Linked DNA regions of Homo sapiens: all the other regions are linked to region 2. The links are contacts of gene promoters, found by promoter capture Hi-C in human tissues and cell types (Jung and others, 2019). All regions are on one chromosome and are shown on one strand. Each heading gives the region's core, a stretch centred on a gene start or on the middle of the fragment in contact. The rest is flanking DNA. Distances are from core to core; before and after follow the strand shown.

The links. Contacts are between HindIII fragments. The study calls those that stand out against the background at their distance.
Region 1: a fragment that was not itself captured here is called in contact with the fragment with the promoter of USP25 in region 2 in 2 of the 25 tissues and cell types used here (dorsolateral prefrontal cortex and hippocampus).
Region 3: a fragment that was not itself captured here is called in contact with the fragment with the promoter of USP25 in region 2 in 2 of the 25 tissues and cell types used here (dorsolateral prefrontal cortex and lymphoblastoid cells).
Region 4: a fragment that was not itself captured here is called in contact with the fragment with the promoter of USP25 in region 2 in 2 of the 25 tissues and cell types used here (IMR-90 fibroblasts and dorsolateral prefrontal cortex).
Region 5: a contact is called between a fragment that was not itself captured here and the fragment with the promoter of USP25 in region 2, in 1 of the 25 tissues and cell types used here (dorsolateral prefrontal cortex).

The regions. Positions count from the first base shown.
Region 1 is chr21:16,191,856-16,195,861 of GRCh38, forward strand. The region is part of intron 3 of MIR99AHG (mir-99a-let-7c cluster host gene); the gene reads left to right. Among named protein-coding and RNA genes, the nearest start is that of SNORD74B, 91 kb to the right of the region's middle. RefSeq lists an enhancer at 1,981-2,741. The HindIII fragment of the contact is 3,642 bases long and covers 1-3,288 here.
Region 2 is chr21:15,727,459-15,731,500 of GRCh38, forward strand. It overlaps USP25 (ubiquitin specific peptidase 25), which reads left to right and starts at 2,524. Exons shown (of 26, transcript NM_001283041.3): 1 at 2,524-2,980. The coding sequence starts at 2,936. RefSeq lists a silencer at 2,129-3,088. The HindIII fragment of the contact is 10,815 bases long and covers 1-4,042 here.
Region 3 is chr21:16,215,512-16,219,633 of GRCh38, forward strand. The region is part of intron 3 of MIR99AHG (mir-99a-let-7c cluster host gene); the gene reads left to right. Among named protein-coding and RNA genes, the nearest start is that of SNORD74B, 67 kb to the right of the region's middle. The HindIII fragment of the contact is 5,714 bases long and covers 1-4,122 here.
Region 4 is chr21:16,115,615-16,120,273 of GRCh38, forward strand. All of the region lies in intron 2 of MIR99AHG (mir-99a-let-7c cluster host gene), which reads left to right. Among named protein-coding and RNA genes, the nearest start is that of MIR99AHG, 47 kb to the left of the region's middle. The HindIII fragment of the contact is 6,190 bases long and covers 141-4,659 here.
Region 5 is chr21:16,076,050-16,080,425 of GRCh38, forward strand. All of the region lies in intron 2 of MIR99AHG (mir-99a-let-7c cluster host gene), which reads left to right. Among named protein-coding and RNA genes, the nearest start is that of MIR99AHG, 7.8 kb to the left of the region's middle. The HindIII fragment of the contact is 3,413 bases long and covers 1-3,040 here.

The sequences.
Region 1 (4,006 bases), core at 218-2,717, 460 kb after region 2:
GTGATGTTTTGAAATTATGTCTTTGTAACTTCATATATTATTATTATGTCATACCATTTTGAATGGCCTTTTATTTAATTAAAATATAATTTTAATTATTTTCATATTTATTCTAACTTAGCATCTCTAAATACACATCATAGGGTTTTAGTGGTAGAATTATCTAAGCTATTGAGATGTTTTTCAAGTTAGATGAACTTAGTGAAAAATGTTCTGCAATGTTTGATAAAATCACCACGGCATCTAGAGCAGTGGACAATATCCCCGTGAAATGATGGTGGAAACCGACCAACTTTTTTCAATAGCATCCTGGTAGTGATCTTTTCAGTCACTTTTAAAATGGGATTTTTTTCTGTAACCCGTATGTAATTCAGAATGTCTGTGGTTGTTTTAGTCAACTGGCCATTAAAAAAAAATACATTATGGACTGTGAACTCACCAAGGCCCTTTCAAGTGCTGATGTATGTTTTATGTTTTATGTAGGTTATTAGTGACCTTTTTTGCACTTTTATCAGAAAGTCCTTTGTTTTGTGCATGTAGCTCTGTCAGAATAGAGGCCAGATCTTCAGGTGTTTAATTGCAGACTTCTAATGCATAAGACCTGCTGGCCTTGTTGACTTTTAGAAGTTATTTGTTAGTCTCAAATGAAAGAAACAAGAAAAAAAAAAGCTTGCTCTTTTTATAACAGAGTAAGATGAAACATGCAATGATAGGGTGGTGCTGAGTTGTAGAAATTTCTAAAAACTAGGTATTCCTCAAACAGTAATTAGAATTTTTGATTTTCTACATATCTATTGGCTAAAGAGCCAAAAATGGTTTTCAATAATGCCTGTTTTCAATATATAAAACGTCCATAACAGAATCACTAAAAGACATCAAATTATTATTATTTAAAATTTATTGAGAGGCAATGTCAATCTGTTTTTTCAAACCTATCAGTGACTCTCTATTGTATATTGGAGAAAGTAGAAACTCTTAATTTCTGCCCTAACCCCCACCCATAACTGATTTTAACACTCCTATTACCACATTATTTGTTACTGCAGTTTTTAAAATTGACTCTATCCATCAGACAGTATTATTTGGCCGCTGTTTTTTTACACCTGTCTTATTTATTCTTGATTTTTTTTTTTTGGTTTGTCTGTTTTATTTATGTCACTGTCCACTTTGCAGACAATTTAGTTGGCCAGGTATCCATGAGGAATATTGCCATTCCTGCACTGTGCTGAGTCAGACATGCCTTGTGGCATCATCAAGTAACAAGGTTGAGAAAACGTGGGTGTGGCAAATCCATTTCTGAGTAACAGCCTTTTTGGAGGGAAGAGATTGGCTAATCCAATCAGTATCAAAGCCTGTGCTTCTTAATTGGGTTGTATTATTCAAAAGCATGGATTTAATTTGAAATAAAATTGCCTGATGTTTCTGTATCATTGATTTATTGATGGTGGCGGCTACTATTTTTTAGTGTTTTCAAGGAATATGAAAACTTACAGTATGAAATTTACACAAATCTGTAGTTTTAAAATATTACCTTTTCCTTTAGTGTTTCTCCTATTTTCCGTTAGTTTGAGTTCTCATTTTAAAAAAATGTTAAAGAGAAAAAACATTTGTCTGACATAGAGCTCAAAAGGAAATTCTCATTAAAACAACTATGAGAATGAGAGAAATCATGATACTAAGATAGTATGTAATCTTTAGAGTTTAAAATAGTTGTTCCTAGCCCCTAAAGTGATATTATTTTGACTTCCTTAAGCATAGAGAACTTTGTTTACAGTAGTTCTACTCTGCAGTTAGGTGTAATAAACCAGCATTCTTTACAAAACTCAAATGAGACCTTGGAACCTGAGCTATATGAGTAACACATATATGATCCTGTGATCTATATGATATATTATTTGTCATTTCTCTATTCCCAGCTTGAAATTTAATATAAAAAAAAGTTTCACTGCTTCATTCTAAATCCTGTTTGATCCAACATGGAAAACATTGTTTTAGATTTCTTAATGTAAAAAAAAAAAAAATATATTTGACTGGATTAGATAGTAGTTACTGCAAAAAGTTACTGCAAAAAAAAAAAAAAAAACTCGGAGTTTACCTTTAGTCACATCTTCAGTACATTTTCTATTAAAGTATTTCTAGATTTTAGTGTCTGCTTGGTTTTGGTTATCTAAGCTGTAATAAGTAGCCTTGGGACCCCTGAAGGCACGCCCCACACACTTATGCTGTGTGACCTAAGGTCACAAGTAATGGCTGCAAGCTAATTGATTGAGAAAGGGTTGTCTGGCGGGGCCTCTTTGCGTCCTCCCTTTACATTCCTAAGTTCTGTGAAAGAGGCACTAGTAGCTCAGGCTAGCAAGGAAGGAAAAAAGAGGAAGTTTCTCTCTGCGTTCTGATTACACTCTGAATTCCCTTGTAGTGAGCTTACTTCTCTCCACCCACTTCTTACCAAGAACTCCTTAACTTGAGGGTGAACAACTTAAAGCTTGATCCTACAGTTACCTGAAAAGTGATTTGAGTATTCATTGAACTGAAAGAACAAATCGCCTACTTCAGGCGGTGGCAAGCGTATGGAAATTATATTAGAACTTCAGCAAAGTGCACAGCTGCATAATAGAGAAGCCGGCACTCAGATTGACAGGCAAATAAGCCAGCTTGTGGAAGGGGCCTCTGGGTGGCAGCTCTGGGCTTTTGGGTGTTGGACAACCATAGGCAAAACTGAAATGGAACAGGGGCAGAAAATAGCACACTTTTACTCTACGCAACTGTTGCTTTTTCATGGTGAGTGCAGATTTAAGATATTATATTTAAAATATACTTTCTATGTTGTAAAACAAGTTAAGAAATCTGTTGTGCTTTGAGGGAAATTATAGCAAAAGCATTTCTTAGAAGTTCTTAGACGATGTGGTTTTGTTTCTGCTTGATTTCACACTAACCTTGGTGATGCAAACAGAAAAATACAATATTTGTATTGTCTCGTGTGTCCTTTTTCTGAAAATTGTCCTTTGGTTTAAATCATGCTTCTCTTCAACTTGAATCAGCATTGTTTTAGGCAAATCATGTGTGGGATAGATGATGAAGGAACAACGGTGTGACAGAATATATGTAAACATTTCATTTAGTTCGACTTTGTGTCACTTCTCCACGGCTTCATGTTTTGCCGCCTTATCTTAGGAATATATAGCGCAGTCTGCATGAAAAGAGCTTTGTGTGAGAATTCCTGGCCAGTTGAAGGGTCAGGGCCTGTGCGTTATCTGACTGCCAGCAAGATCACTGGTGTGTCCTCTTATTTTTAACTTAAAATAGGAAAAAAAAAAGTGCATCTTTACATATTAAAAAGTAAGTGTGTTTGATTTCAACAGTTCCCTTCTTGTAGTATGTGGATGTTATTCCTGGCAAAGAATTGTTTAAATTTCTTTTAGGAAGCGGCATGCAAACTTCTTTTGTTTCTTTTTGTCTTGTTTGCTCATATTTCATTGAAACTTTACACACTTTAAAAAAATTTGAAATGGTACCAAGTAGTTTTTATTTTGGTGCAAATATTTTGAAAGTTGCTAGGCTTATGTTTTCTGGAGAACAATGTCTCAGAGTGTAAATTTTGTTTAACTCCCCGTGTAGTCATACTTATAACTCTACTTTAAATGTGCTTCTTATTTTAAAAATATCAGAGCCTATAGAGACTATTCCTAGAAATGTTAATAGAAATGTTTTTCTTTGGCAAAAATTGCAGATTCAGTTTTACAATTTATTAAGTGCCAAGATATCATTGCTGTTGTTGACTTTGCTAAAAAAGCAATTTTATTAACAAGGTGACTGCATTAGATGTTACCAACTGAGACGAAGTGAAACATGTGCTTTCACCCTGTTGATCTGATGAAATATAGAGGTCTGTGTGGTTACTTCGTGCGTCACATTCATTTAAACTTTTTAAAGAGCAGCTGCGTAATACAAATTTTGTATACTCACTTAAAAAATAAAATTTACTAGAGTAGGCTCTTGTTTTTGGAGA
Region 2 (4,042 bases), core at 1,274-3,773:
CTTTGTCTATTTTATGCTGCTACAACATAATACCTATGAATGGGTAATTGATAATGATCAGAAATTTGTTGGCTCACAGTTCTGGAGGCAGGGAAGGTCAAGATGGATGGGCCGTCATTTGGTGAAGGCCTTCCTCCTGTATCATTGCATGGTGGAAGAGCTAAGAGAAGGGGAGAAAGAGAGAGAGGGAAGGAAAGGAAAAGGGAAAGAGGCAAGAAGGAGCCAAACTCGTCCTTTTATAAGGAAACTGTCCTTTTGATAGGGACTGCACATTTGTGATAGCACCATTAATTAATTCATGAGGTCAGAGCTCTCATAACTGAATCACCTCTTATTAGGGCCCACCTCCACACTGTTGCATTGGGGATTAAGTTTCCATCACACCGTTTTTGGGGGGATACATTCAAACCACAGCATTGTTACACACAAAATATTTCATATTATATGAAATATGTCACTTAACATTTTTACCTGAATGTCAACAACATAGAGTAATGTAGCAGTTTAGAAGTTATTAAATAATATCTTGAGGATATATAATTCCGACACACATGCATATTAAAGCTGACTCATACAACACAATTGTCACGGCGCAAATTTAAAAAATGAGTTAGGAAATCCCAGCGATGGGTTTTGTGTGCCAATTTATCTCAATTGCTCAAATTTCTCTAATTATTCATCCCAATTGTAAGCCTTCTAAAAAGGAATGCCTATGAGGAAACTTGAAATTTTCTTCTCAATGTTCTTCAGTACAACAGTTAAAAATATTTAAAGAAATGCTGAGTAAGTAGGAAACCCTCAGAAGTAAGCTGAAAATGAACAGTCTCAGTGGGCAAATAGGTCTACCATATAAAAGCTCTATTTGATGATTATCTATTGTAAGATCATCTTTTTTTTTCTGTATGGAAGTAACAAATTTAACTCAGAGAAAAGTTGTATTGCCAAATTCTTGAAATTAAACCTTAGTATCTGGCAACATTTTTCCTCCCATGGTACTAGATTACTAGATTTTTATGTTAAATTTAATTTTCTTGAATTCAAATGTATGAGCTTGATTTCTAAAAAACAAACAAACAAACCAAAAAACCAAAACCCTCATATGGAGAAACATGAAGTTAGCATATAAACAAGAAAAGAAGAAACTTTGATCTATAAATGAAGAAAAATGGGTTTTGATAAGCTCTCTTTGACAGGTCACCCTCCTTGGGCTTCAGAGTTATAAAAAAATCGATACGTGAGATTAGAGATGTGACAGTATTTCTAAATTTCTGTTTCCAACCGTTTCATGACTTTTCATTTCCTCTAGAAAAGACATAGGATATTAATATAATAAGATTTGCAATTTGTTAAATATCAAATGAGTCAACAAATATGAAGCTTCAAGGAAAAGGTGACAACAGGTGGTACCAGACATCTGAGCTGCAGAACAAAGATGGTTGTAAAGTGCACAGAACTGTTACAAAGCCTTAAGAGCTACTATAATCCATGATTATTAAATAACACCACATACTATTTCAATTAGCATTTGCCAAGCTTGCTTTCCTTGTCATTGGATTAAAAATTATACCCGGATTTTCAAGTGTATTCTATTTGTGACAATATGCATTGATAATTTCTCTCCTCACACTGCTGCACTCTCACCTCCGTTCCCAGATTAGCTCCTGGAACTCGAGATATTTTTGTGGCTAGAGATTGCTTTCTTAATGTTAGATTTTCCTTACAATTCCATATATAGTCAAGCATTCCATGCATGGTAGTTAATTGTTTGCTTAATTTGGCAACTGGGATATTAGAATTATGTATCATTAGGCAGTGATATTTTTGTAAGGTTGTTTGCTAGATAGATCCTATTTCATTTATATTAAGTCTTGGGAAGATAAACTTTATTTTTCCAGAGCCTAGCAGTGACTGACACATATTCGAATGAATGAAGGTAGATAGAAAATGTCTATATTCATTTACGTAATGATTAGTTAAGGAGAAAAGTACTTCCCAGCATAAAGATTTCTGGCAACCCTTTGCTTATTTGACTTTTCCCTTCAGGCAAGTTCAAGGCTTGTGAAATTCCTAGAAAGGCGAGGGGAGAGAACGCGTGACACAGAAAGGGGCCGGAGTTCGGGACCCTACGCAGTTTTGGGACGTTATGGGCATGGAGGGAAATGTTTGCTTTGGAGGCTTTGGGTAAGCTAGGGATCCGACAAGCCCTGGGCGCAGGGAGGAACGCTGCCCTCCGGCCTCCAGTCGCGCTCCCCGAAGCCCAGCGCCAGCGTCGCGCAACCTGCCGCAGGGGCGGCTCCCGGGCCAGGCAGCCAGGCGCGCCCTCGCCCCACCCGGGAACGCCAGGCCCGCGCAGGGAGGGGCGGGGCTCCATGGCGGCCCCGCCCCGCCGCCCGGAGGGTCACAATGTAGGGTTAGGGCGGCCGGCGGGCGGGGCTCTGCGGGGGAGGAGCCGCCGGGCGGGGGCGGGGATGGCGCGTGGGGGAGGGGAGGGAGGAGGACTCGCGGAGGGAGGAGGACAACGCCATTCCGGGCGGCCGCTCCCTCCGTCCCCTCTCTCCCTTCCCCAAAGCAGCCCGCGGACCGGCAGCAAAGGAACGTGCGAACGCGTGACGCCGCCCGACTGGCTCGCGCTCTCCCGTGCCCCGGCGTCCTCCGCCCGCTCATGGCCCGGGCCGCCGCGGACGAGCGGCGCTGAGGCGGGCCGCGTGGAGACGTGAGGCGGCCGCCGTGGCCCTCACAGTCGGCGTTTCGCCGCCTGCCCGCGGTGCCCGCGCACGCCGGCCGCCATCGCCTTCGCGCCTGGCTGGCGGGGGCGCTGTCCTCCCAGGCCGTCCGCGCCGCTCCCTGGAGCTCGGCGGAGCGCGGCAGCCAGGGCCGGCGGAGGCGCGAGGAGCCGGGCGCCACCGCCGCCGCCGCCGCCGCCGCCGCGGGGGCCATGACCGTGGAGCAGAACGTGCTGCAGCAGAGCGCGGCGCAGAAGGTGAGGCGAGTCCGCCAGCCGGCGGGCCCCACTTCTCCTTCCGACGGGCTGTCCTCTCCCGCTGCGGCCGGGCGCCCCGGCCTCGCCGCCGCCGCCTTCCCGGGCTTCCTCCCCGGTCACCCCCGGCCCCTGCCCATCGCCTCGGGGGCGTCGCGCCCAGAGCCCAGCTGCGTGTGGGAAGCAGAGTGTAGTTTGCGGGCTTCAATCCACTTCCTTCTGCCGATTGTTTTCCCGTAGCAGACGGTGCCAGGTATTGAGAGCGACCCTCACATTCCTACAGTGCTCTGTGTGGCATCTTAATGAAACTTTATTCTCTCCCCTTAAATGAGAAAGAATAGCTAGTTGTCATCCTTTCTGAACCGATTTTGTCTTTCAAAGGTAGTAGTGTACCAGGCCTGCTATTTTGCAAAACGGTCTCCACCAAAATCGAATTACCTGCCTCGCGGGGCAGGCGTGTTGACCAGGTGGACTCTAGAAGTAGGTGGTTTGCTTGGTTTCTTTTCCTTTTAAGGTTTCCCTTTCTTCTTCTTCTTTTCTGTTTTTTTTTTTTTTTTTTTTTTTTTCAATATAGAAACTGTCCCTAAGAGAGGAAACCTTTCTGGCCATGTTATTCCAGGAATCTTTTGTCCCCTAAGTTTGACCTTGTTCTTTCGTTCACCCTTTACTCTTGCATCAGTCACACATTCAAATGGTCACTCACTAAAGAAAACAATTAAAAAACTGTTTGTGAAACTTTATATCTTTAAAGTGAATAGAGATCATTCTGCTATTTTAGATTTTGCTTTCAGAATCTTAAGTGCACTATCATGGCTTGCACCATGTTCTGAAGAGTAGTTGGCCATGATTTAACTTCTTTTTTTAATTTTTAATTTGCGTGAAAAGCATTTTGGGCAAAAGAGTAAACCGTGCCTTAGTTGTGTTGGTATTACGGGGACAGTTAGGGTTTACTGTGATCAACCACCAGAGTTATGTTTGGTTTATCTGGGTGAGTAATGAATGCCCCACCCTGTTGTAGATTTGGTGTAGATTGCAATATTCTACCTGTGCTTGACTTTAGAATAA
Region 3 (4,122 bases), core at 273-2,772, 490 kb after region 2:
AATTAGTTGATGATAGATTACTGAGCTGAAAACTTGACATTTGATTGCTACTTTTAAGTGTTAGGCAAATTAAGAGGTATGGAAAATTGGACATATCATAGTGTAAATGAATTTATTTTCTCCATGGCAGGATTTGGTTGCTTGTGAACATATAGCAGATTCTCTAATACTCATAAGGCTCCCTCTTTCCTTTAATACGAAGGATGTAGGAGAAGTTCAGCAAGCACTTATTTGTTAGGTTGAATTCTAAATATGGACACAGTGCAGTCTTAAATTATGTTAGAAAAAGGACATTTGGCTTAGTGAGACACATTAATCATAGTGCAGTCTTAAATAGATCTGAGGACTTACAACAGTGCATAGATATGTCTTTAAATCAGCAGAAATTCAGAAGAACATGGCAGGTTAGAAATGATAGGATGATAACTTGGATTTGATTATGGCAAGATTAACTAAGCAGCTGTTGAGATTGGATAATGATATGTGAGGTTCTCATCACCCTGTAACTTGTTTCCACTAATACAGATTAAGAATGTCTGGAGGAACTATAATTATCTCTGTGGCTCGTGCATAACATAATTATGTTTTGCCAGTGCAAAGCATTTTATTAAGTGGAAAATGATTTTTAAAAAGTTATACAAGTGGCTACAAGAACAAATCAACTAAGAACAGAAACATTGGCACTTCATAATAGTAATGTGAAAAATACTTATCTCTTTTTGTTATATGGAGTTTTCAGAATTTAAAGCCTTGTTTATATGACAGATACATGAGGGATTATTTCAGTGATGTTGACCCTCTTACTGAAGTTTGTGCCCCAGGTGTCCAGACCACAAAATAGAAAATGCAATCTTTGTCTGCCTTACATAAATACAGTACTGAGATCAGCTTGTCTTTTAAATGTCTGATTGCTATTTAATTACAAAAAATTTGTCTTTAAACAGAGCACCCAAAACAACAAAAAAACAGTAAAGAACTCATTTCGGAGCCTTGTAATCCACCCTACCACATAAAAAGAGGGTGATATGTCTGACAACTCTCTGTATAATCAGGTTTATTAAGTGATAGTCATTATGCATTTTATAAACACTACCCTAAAATATGTAATGTGAATGTATCTGTTAATCAGAAAAAGCTAACTAAAACTGAATGCAATGTACTCATTTCCATTCTGGTGGCATTCTTACATAATGATTTTAAAGCAACTGTGATGAGATAGAAAGAGTGTTAAAGCTGTAGTGAACAAATGGGAATTCAAATTCCAGCTCTGAAGTGTTCCGGCTGGCTGAGTTTCTTATACTTTCTGAGCCTCCGTTTATCCAGTAGTAAAATGCAGCTATGAATTTCTACCCCAGTGGGCTGCTGAGAGAATTAAATGAGATAATTTATGTGAACAATCTTCTTAGAATATGTTTATTTAATCTGACCTTGAAAAATAATTCACAAAAAATGTGTCAGAGTAAGTTTTCTCTCGTCTCAAAGGAGAGAATATGAAGTAGATTAAGTGACATTTTTGAAAAAAGTTCCACATTTGAAACTTTTATTTATAAAATTGTGAATTTATCTTTAGTTATAGAATAACTTTCCTCTTCCTTTGATCTTTTTAAGCGTAATATTTAGCCCTCTCTTTATTACTCTGAGAGAAGATGAATATTTTAAAACTATTTATATCACATGTCTAAAAGTATTTCTCATTTTTTTCTTAAGCTCTTTTTTGAATATTTATAATTTCTTTCCCTTTTATTCTCATATTTCACACCTAGTATTTCTGCTTTCATTTCATTAATCTTTTTTTAATAACTTGGCACCTGGGCCTGTTTTGCAGCTATGTGCAGCAATCTTAAGTACTATGTATAGTTTAGTTTTCAATCAGTTCCTTGCTGTTACTTTCTGCAAATAAAAACTAGCTTAGCTATGCATGTGATTAACATGGCCCAGGTATTCCTATTACTAGGTCTTTCTATTACTAGGTCTTTCTTTCCTTCTGTGTTATTTAATATAAGGCAAAATAGGACCCTGCCGCTTACCAAGCTTTCAGGATCCTCCATCTTCCATCTTCCACTAATCCCTTCCTATGTCTCTATGAAAAATATATCTCTAAGATGGTGGTTGACAAGAGTGTGAGAGTCAAATGGTAAGGAATATTGCTTGGAAATAAGGCTGAATTAATAATTCCAGAGAAACATTGTGAAATAACTTATAGGTACATAAATTCACTATATTTAGATCTGCCTCATACTTTTAAACCAGCAGCATGATAATTCATAGCATGGACTTATCATCATACCATATATTGAAACATTCCTCTATTGTTGGATGGTTATTTCATTTCCTCTGCTTCATTGTTTTGAACATCCCTATAATAATCACCACTGTATATGCCATTTTTTGCAGAAGTGGAATTCCTAGTTAAAAGTTGAATTTCAAAATTGTTCTTGACAGTTTATACTTCTAGCAACAAAGTCTCTAAGTCTTACTATTAAGAGAAAATGCAAGACTTAGAACAATACATTTTATAAATGACATGTATATTAAAAAAGATCTATTATGTGAATGTATCATATAACTTGAATGATATACACTAAACACTTAACCTCTGGGGAGGAAAATAAAATTAAGAAAAGGTGGGGAAGGAAAATTTACTTCAAATACATTTGTATTGTTCAGATTTTTTACAGGAAAGATGAGTTTATATACTGCTATGTGTGTATATATATATATAACATATATATATCTATATATATATATAGATATATATAGATAAATTTTTTTTTTTTTTTTTTTTTTTTTTTTTTTTTTTTTTTTTTTTTTTTTTTTGGAGACGGAGTCTCACTCTGTCGCCCAGACTGGAGTGCAGTGGCGCAATCTCGGCTCACTGCAAGCTCCTCCTCTCAGGTTCATGCCATTCTCCTGCCTCAGCCTCCCGAGTAGCCGGGACTACAGGCGCCCGCCACCACGCCTGGCTAATTTTTTTTTGTATTTTTAGTAGAGATGGGGTTTCACTGTGTTAGCCAGGGTGGTCTCGATCTCCAGACCTCATGATCCACCCGCCTTGGCCTCCCAAAGTGCTGGGATTACAGATGTGAGCCACCGTGCCCAGCCTACTGCTATGTATTTTTAAAATAAAATTAAAATAGAGACACAAAGGTATTACTATAGTGGTATCAAAGTAAACAGTGTGAAAGCATCCAACCTGAATTTCATAGCTGCAGTGTGATGGCATTTTTATTCAGCTATTTCTAGGCATATTTTAAGGTCTGAGACTCACCATATGCACTATCATGTAAATTTATTTTTATAGGTAAAAACTGTAAAGTAATAAAACAGTCTCAGTTTCCAGAGCAAATCATATCCATCTGTACTGCTGGGTAAATGTAGTTCTGATTCAACCACATGAATAAGATTACACGTGTTTTTGAAAATCACTATTTGCTGAAGATCATAAGCAATTCACATGCTTTGTCTATGGTTAATTTTGGTAATAAGATGCAAGACAGCTCACAGATCTTTAAGCTATATCTAGAAATAGTGCTGATTGAATTTAAGCTGATTATGCAGCTTATTTTGGTCGTTTGCCCTCTTCCTAAATTCTAAAGTTCAAAGTTTAACGTGAAATAGTTTTCTCAAGTTTAGCTCTAGCCAAAGTCCATGAAATGGCTTATGTCTGTCAATAGTTGACCTAATAGATTTGTCCTATGTTGACACTTTGTTCTTTTCATACTAGACTGTGCGTATCATGTAGGTATGTTATTTTCAGTGTGCTGTGCTTTAAAATGGGATTAGAAAGTCATGGAGAATTTTTTGAAAATGTTTTGATGTGTTAGTGTTTTTTGGTAGGGTTTTGGGATACATCATTTATTTATTAATTAATTCATTATTCTGTATTTATTCTAGAATGTCATCAGTAATGTATTGAACTACCAATCATGTTAGTGGAGATAACAAGGCAAGACCAGTATAGTGACATTAGAGGCATAAAATCAATGGGTTCTATAAAATATTTGAGTTGCTTTATAAGAACTGTGTATCAACAGGAGTAAAGTCATCAAGAAGAACCTCTTCTACCAGTGCCATCAAGAAAGGGTTCATTTATATGGGGAAGCTCCAACAGAATCTGGATAG
Region 4 (4,659 bases), core at 1,986-4,485, 390 kb after region 2:
CATACATTTTAGCAAAGTTGTATTCTCTTTTGTCTCTCCTTTCAAATGAAGTAAGTCTTGCGAAATTTATTTCTTTGCGACCTCTTTTAAAGTGGCAACAAGCAGCCAAGAAGCACCACCATTTTGACTTTTTCCAATGTCCTTGACTAGAGCTGTGCTGTCTAATACGGTAAGCAGTAACTATTTGTGGTTACTTAGATGTAAATTATGAAAATTAAATGAAGTTTGATATTCAGTACCTCAGTTGCAGTAGTCACAGTTCAACTGCTCAATAGTATCAAACAGCACAGATGTAAAAAAATTTCCACCATTTCCTATATTGATATAAGGTTCTATTAGATAGCAGTAACCTAAAGTTATACACTCAATAATCATACAATTTTCCTTTTAACTTTTACTGGATGCTTACCATGGCATAGTTACCAGTTTTTTCCAGCTTTTCAGCTGGAAATACTAAGTTAAGAGCTTTACTTTAGAATAACTGGCCAGGGGTGCATTGGTTTTGCTGGAATTTAACTATCAGAAACTACATATCATTCCTTGAAGGTCCATGTTGGAAGAGATGATTCTTTCATTTTTTTTCCTGGTATAATAAGGATGGCTGCCACTTTTCTCAGAGCCTAGTAACAAGTGAGTTTGGTGGTGTGGAGGTCCACCAATCAGCATAAGGTGGTATTTAATTTCTCTATTTTCAGATGCCACCCAAGCCTTCCCTTCTGTACACTGTTTCTGAGTTTAGTGTCCTTTTAGTTCAGCCCTGCCATAGAGCAGTCCTCCATTTTTGAAAAAGAAGAGACTAGTGAGAGCTGATCACCAAAAAATCTAGTTGCTTTTCGCGCAGATTTTCAACTAGTTTCCCTATTTTCTATTTCACTTATTCTCTGTTTTCAGGGTTCACCCTGTCTCATTTTTGAGCCTTTTTTTGGCATGTAGTGTATGATGATTTCCTTTGGCTTTCTTTATGCTTTTGGATATTTAGATTTGAGGTTTCTTCTATATGTTGCCTTTCACCACTTGGCCACCTTCTTTTCAGCTTCATTATTTTATTAAAATTTCCTATTCGTTGCCTTCTTCTCTGGTATTTTCTTGTCCTCAAGGGGACCCTCAGTCTTTTTTTTTTTAACCCTTTCACAGACATTTTAGAATTTTTAAAGGGAAAGGAGGTAAAAAAAAAATGTTTACTACTCCAGGTTGAACCAGGAATACTGCATTGTTTTATAACTGAGCTGTGAATAATAGGCATGTGAAAAATTTGTGTTGGTAGGAACTGATATGTACTATATAGTCAATATATTCTGGGAACTCACATTCTTTGAAATATAAATAATTCTATGCCATACTTGGTATTTTTCACATGAAAAAAACTGAAATTCCAATAGATTAAATCATATCCTGGAGGTGCAAGAGCTTAATAAGTAACAATCTGTTTATACTTGATTTTGTCATGCTTCCTTATATCATAATACAGTGTTTAAAGGCTCAAGAATTTGTGCCTGGGTTTGAATTCCAGTTGTACAACGCAATAGCTGCACTTAATTTCACATTCTACTTAATTTGTCTGTGTCTAACTTTTGTTTGTCTCTGTGTGTAGAATATTGATAATATAACAGCAGTATCTACCTCATAGGATTATTGGAAGGATTAAATACATTAATATATGTAAAAGATTTTGAATAGTGCTTGACATACAGTAAGTTCTATAGATGTGTTAGTAATTTCTAATTGTATTACTTTGTGCTCCATCTATCCCAAGGAAGAAAAGATATTGCTTCTGCTTATAGATGGTCTTTTAAAGCTAGGAAATACGACATTAAAGGTGTGACGTCTACTTGCACTTTAAAAACTCTCGCCTTTCTAGAACTTTCTGTTACTAAAGCTTGAAAATGAAAGAACTGTTACTGAGTGAGCTAATGAAAGAAAAACATGCTGATTTCTTCTACTTTTAAAGGGGAAATGGATGATGTAAGTTCTGAAGATAGATCTCTACGATTTTTTTTACATCCTCTAGATTACTTTTAGTGGTTTTTCCATACTATTTTCATTCTACTCATTCTAATTTCAAAAGTCCTTCTAATTTGTATATTTGAATTAGTATCCCTAGAAAACATTTTCTCCATAACCAAATTGATGTAGAACCATAGTTTTCAAAATGTTATTGCATGGGTCATAAAAAGTAGTTGTGGGGACTTTAAAACTATCTTGAAACAATCTTCTTGTTTCATATAAAAGCCAATCTTCTTGGCTTTTATATTTCAGATTAAATCCAAACCACTCATAGCTTGAGTACCATCAGCTGTTGGCAAAACTTAGCTTCTTGGTTCTATGTAAAAGTGAATCATTTTGTAAACACTCTGACAACCAAGATATAAATCCTTTGGTTTACACAGGTGACCTCATGAATATTCTTTTCCACCCTTTGTGTGTGTTAGAGGGAGAAAATACCGCAGGCATTGAATATTGAAATTTTTTCTAATCATTGTAACTGGAAGGAGACGCTGACAGATCCATTCTCTGGACATGTGTTTTAAAGTTAAGGAGGAAAAGACATGAAAAAATACCGTATAGGCTTTGCTGAAACCAAAGCATTTGGAGCACAGTTTAATACGTTTGCCAAATTTTAAATACAGCTGGGTTCTCCCACAGTTTCTTTAATTGGAAGCAGATTTCTGTGCTAATTCTGTAACGTGAAGAGAGCTCTAACAGTATTTCTTTCCTAAAAGTAGGGCATATATTTGCAGTGACCACTTCTAACATCAACAACTCCTTAAAAATATCCGACTTAGCAATTTTCAATGCGACTTAGAAATTTTCAAGAGTTTTCAGTAGATTTATTACCTCATGTGGTTTTATATACTTAATAGTTAAGTGTATAAATAATTAAAATTATTTAATAACTGATAATTAAGTTCACTGGGTATTTTGTTTTTAGAAAAAAGTGGATCGTATCTAAAGAATTAAAAATATGGAAATGTTCATATTGTAAAGTAAAAGTCCACATTCTGCTTGAATGTGAAAGACAAAATGTTTGTTTCTTTCATAAGTTTAAAAAATTTACCAAGTTCTTAACATTTTAATATGATAAAATTTAGTGGAAAAGGCTAAATTGAAACAAAAATGTATTTATATTATATACTACATATATTCCATTCAAAACTACAATACTAGTTTCTGAGTCACCAAATGTGGAAATTAATGTCAATATGATGAAAATACAATTTTGGAAAATTTATCTGTTTTTAATACCTATATATTCACTTTAACACTCAATATATTACATTTTTAATAAGCACTAATGATATTAATAGTAATTTGAAAGAAACATATTACAAAGTTTTATAAAGAAAGCATTAAAATAGGTTTTTGGAAGATTAACCTTGAGGCATTATTTCAGTCTGCTTTCCAATTACATATTGGAAAGAGGGGTACAGCATCTACTTTTTAATGCTGCTCTTACTTTGGTAAGAATCTAGGTAGTGGGTAAAAAATAAAATCATTTGAAATAGTTTTTTATTTATTGAACATTTTTTAGGCTGTACCTATAAAATATCTTTATAGCAATAAATACTTTTATAGCAATAATCTACACCAGATGTGTTCATCATGACTTTTTAAACTTTCTACCCTTTCAAAATTACATATCTGGTTTTTGTTGACAGTACTATTATAACTTAGAGAATTTACCTGATTTTAATAGCACAGCAAAAGAGCTGTTTTAGGAGAATGAGCATAATTGAAATATAGGCATTTGCTAAGGAGAGTCTATAAAGACCATTTTCATTAAGACACAAAAAGATTCCCCAAATATTAGTGTAAGCTCTAAAAATTGTGCCAGCAGTGTACCCTGAGAAGGCAGTTATTTCCTTATTATTATGCAGGCACCTAAATAAAAGGTCGATGTATGTATCAGTTTTTTCCACAAGATCTTTATTGCTTTCTCTTGGTCTTTGTACTGTTCCCTTTGCTAATACTGCGGTATCTTAATATTAATCTATTTTATTGTAAGCTTTGATATCAGTTGAGCTAGCCCTCCCATTTTTATTTGCATGCAAGCGTACTTAGCTATTCATGGCTCTTTCAATTTCATTTCCATTTTAGAATCAGCTGTATAGTCAAAAATTCTGTTGTGATGTTGGTTGGTATTGCACTGAGTCTGTAGATCAATTTGTGAAGGACTGACATATCTATATTGCCATTCATGAACATGATATATATCTCCACTTGCATCATTAATTTCTCTCCATAAACTTTTAGAATTGGTGCATATCTTTTCTTTGATTTTTTCCTTGTTGCCTAATTTTTGTACACTATGATAAGTTGTACCTTATATTTTGTTACTGATGTTTAAAAATAAAATTGATTATGGTATACTGGTTTTATAAAAAATGGCCTTGCTAAACTCTTATTAATTCCATCAATTTGTAGATTATTTCTATTTTCTATTTCAAAAAGCTACATCATCTGCAAATATTGACAGCTATCAATACTGACATGTTGAATAAAAATGGTGGCATGAATATCTTTGTCTTGTGCTTAATGTCTTACCATTGCAGATTTAGCATTAAGTAATTGCAGAAAATTCCTTTTGTAGCTACCCTTTGTTATATGGAAGAATGTGCCCATTTGTTTCTAGTTTGTTGAGTTTTTAAAAAATCATAAATG
Region 5 (4,376 bases), core at 84-2,583, 350 kb after region 2:
AGCCACTCCTCAAAGTCACATGACTAACAAGCAGCAAAAGAGGGATTTGAACGAAGGATTCTGACTTGAGAGAATGCATTCCTAATCATTCCAAACTGAATAATCAGTACATGTGATTTTGCTGTTTGCTGTAGAAACAGATTTTTTATATATATTACATTCATTAATGGTGTATCTGGTTCAGTTTTTTAAATGTTCACATATATTTTTACCTTAGCATTTTATAGGTCAGTTTGAAAGCTATTGAGTTCGCAATAATATCTACATTAATATTTTCTTCATATTTTGGTATTTCTGCACCCAATCAGATCATTTAGGTAATACATACCAAAACAATTTCTAAACAGTGACATACCAGACAAATGTAAGGTCATGTTAGTAGTAAAATGTCTTTGTAAGTCTGAATTACTAAAAATAAGTATTAGACTAAATGTTTCCATTTCCTCTTTTTCCTAGATATTTTACTTATTAAATATAACACCTATTTTATGACAAAATTAATTCTCATTAATTTGGCAGTTGCAGAATGTCACTTTGGCTTATTTAGACCCTGACTATCCAGACATGTAAGGTAGTTCAGGTTCTCACTCCTGTTTACACATCTTGTGTCTACAACCCACTGCAATCCACAGGATGTTAAAAGAATCTTACAATTACTGAATATGTAGTAATATATTTTATGCCTAATGCTAGATTTTTTAGTTTTTATCTACAGTGGTCAAGACTAGAGGGCATAGCTGACAAGTTGTTGACTTTCAGGGAATCAGCTTAATTTGGGGAAGGGAAAGGAGAAAACAGAATTGTGTAGTTTCTTAGCTTCCTGATGAAATGTTGTCCAGTTTCTTTCTCAATTTTCTATTTCTTTCTAGAACAATGTTGTACACTTACCATATGTCAGAAACTGTGCAGGCAATAAAATGATCCTCTCATGAACTCCAACTTCAACATTGTTATTGATTTTCATAATGAAAACACTATATCAATATATGTTCATGTATAATTGAGGTGTTTAGTTTGGTTACATAATTTATGGTACCCTCTTTTAAAAAAATCTAGAAAAGCAGAAGTTTTGACCCCTATGATTCTCATTTGAATGAAACTCCACTCCACTGTGCTCTCCACTGTGCCTTTGCCTCTTCTATGATCCTGATACCTAGAACTCAATACACTGCTCCTTGGAAGGTTTGAGGAATGCAGGGTGAAGGAGGACTATCATCTCTGTGTTTGGGGGCCACTAGGCCCATGGATGTGGTGCAAAGACCTCAATAGCAGGTTTAAGGATCATATTCTGATTTTGCCCATGCCTTACGCTATTCTCGGTACAGTTAGAATTTGATATTATTTTTTCTCGCAAGATTCCTTGATGTTCGCATTACTAATAATTACCTTTGTGGGAAAGAATCAAGGTCAACATAGCAGTTCCTTTCATTGCTTCTGAACTTACTGAGAAAGCACTTAAAGTATAGGACTTAAGCACTAGTAAAGTACTTAAAACATTTATTTTCAGAATGTTAATTTTTACACAGTGAAAACTAGAGATAATAGTGTCAATGACTACTTAGTGATCACTTAACTCCATGAGGTACTGTGAGAAGTGGTTAGGAGCATAAAATCTCTGTACAGATGCCTGGTTCTGATTCTGAACTTCATGACTTAGTAGATACATAACCTTGGACAAGTTACATAACTTCCCCGGGCCCCAGTTTTCTCATCTGTGCAATAGTACATACCTTAAAAGACTGTGAGGATTCTAGTGCATTTTTGCAAAGGATGGCATTATAAAGATGTGCAAATTCATGTTCTTTACTCTTCGAAGTATGGAATGTAGAGAGTATGTGTTTGTATATATTTAAATAAATATTAATGCAGTGTAGTTAAGTGCTATACCAGAGATGTATTTATGCTTCATAAATACTTTTAAAGTTTAATTTTACTTCACCTCTTTAACCAAGTTTTGTTTTTATTTGAACAAGTTGTCAACCATTGTTATAATCATCAGTTTTATCCCATCAAATATTGGTTTCATTTAAAAAGTTGTTTAAAAAGACTCTATGTTATTTTAATAATATCTATATAAGTTTACAATTTCAGGCAACTAATAATATTCAATCCATTGATTCTACTTTTTCCTCCATTGCTCAGTGTATATATCAGAAAATACAAATGTCCGAAGTCACATGTAAAAATACATGAAACCATTTATTCTGATTTTTGCAAAGCTCGATGGTAGAGCTAATATTTTAGACCATGATACCCTAGAATGACCAGAGGTTAGGTTCCTAGTTAGTGGCATTCTGTAAAGACAATTAATCCATAGTCCAAGTGTCTAATGTTCAAGAATCAGATACTTGATCACGTAGACTGTCCTTTAACAATCTCCATTGTACTCAGGAAGAAAATAATAGATTCTAATCCGAAGACCTGACCTAAAACCCTTTGTAAGTGCTCCAAGCCTCACTTTTCTTATTATGAAATGGGGATAGTAATGCCTAACTGGAAAGATAATTGTGTGGGCTAAATAAGAGGACCTGTGGAGTACTGTTAGGTTTTCTCTTCTGTAAGTTTTGCAAAGTCTGTTCAAGTGTGTGTTTCAATGTCAATGAGAGCAACAGGACTTCAAATAAAATGCAAGCTTCTGAGGAGGCAAACTCTAGTATGATGTATTCTATAGAATAGAGAATGACAAGATTCTTTAAAAATATTTCTCATTAAAACCCCCATTAGTTCAAATGATTTCAGGGGATTGTGAATGCAAGTTAATTAAATCAGAATTCTTTCTCATCTTATCCTGGGAATGACTGAAACTAAAAATGGTTTCATTTTAAAAAGAGGTTCATGAGCTCGCTCCCTCTCTCCACCTCCATCTCTATCTCTGTCTTTCCCTGCCTCTGAGAGAAACTGACGTATTTGGGTAGAGAAGAGCATCAGTAAGTGTTTCCAGTGATTGAGGCAGAGGGATGTTCAAAGGCATGAGTATTTTTAGATTAATAGTAACGATGCAACTAATTTTCAGGTGTCTCATTAAGGTGAAAAATAATATACTATAAATAGCATCATATTTGGACACCTATGTGCCAATTTTATGATGCTTTTACAATTTCATCTAATCTATTACAATTTGTTATTACTCCCTTCAAGTTTTATCCATGCTTTCATGGTACTAATAATGAAGATGACGATCAACTGAACTTTGCCATGATATTTTGTAGGTGTACCTGTTGTTTGAACTATGTATATAAATCATAAAGCAAAGAAATTACACATTCTGTTTGGGATATCTTATAGTAATATTGCCTTTTAATAATCCCCGTTTCTCCTTTTATTTAACAGCAATTACCCAACATCCTATTAAACATCAACAGAGATCGTCTTGCATGTCATTATAGTGCAATAAGATCTGTTTAGCTTTTCAGCTCTTACAAGATATTCATTTTGCAGTGGAGTTAAGCTTTTCTATTACCTTCCTAGGATGATGGTTTAGGAGTCTTTAAAAATTTTTATTAAACTCATTTTAGTTATTTTTTCCCTTTGTTAGTTAATTGATTTTTCTAGGACTGAGAAAGTGGGTTTTTAACATATCTCTTCTCTAGGGATAGGCTTCAGTATGGGGGCTGTTGGAGAGACCATATACCCCATTTCTCCGGGGATATGTCTAGTTTATGCCTATTGTACCAGGGTAATTATTGATGGTGCCCTCTTTCATTTTCAGTAGTGACCCATTTTTCATTAGAAATTATGTGGCCATTCTATAATATAAAGTTAATTTCTGAATGTTTTGGTAAAGATTATATTTTTGGATATGCAAATCTGTTGTCATCATGAAAGTATTTGTACTTTGCAGATTGTGTAACATGAGTTTAGGTTTTGCAAATGTGGTCACTACAGTAATAGATAATTTTGTTGATATGTGTTAGACATGCAATGAGTAATTGTTGATCTAAACTCACTCATTTGAGCATCAGATTTCATTAGTACTCTAGTCTAGACTAACAGCAGGAAGAAGTCCAGCATGTCAATTCATTTAACAAATATTGGTTGAGCACTATGTGCCAATCATTGCTATAAGCACTGAGGGACACAGCAGTAAAGCAAATAGACAAAGTCCGCTGTGCTCATAAAGCTTGTGTTCTGAGGTCCTTTATAGGGTAATAATATATATTTATTAAGTTATACCAATGACATTTTGCTCTCTTATACAAATTGCTTTGACAAAAGGAAGGTTTCATTTAAAATCCAGCCTGTTTTTATTCAGACTGCTCCATGATGTAGGCTAACTTTATACCATGAATTCCTACTGGGTACGTTTTTCTTTCTCTCACTCAGTAGCTTACCTGACATCTTAGGCCCTCCTGGAGTTGATGGTGCCAGCTGCCCAT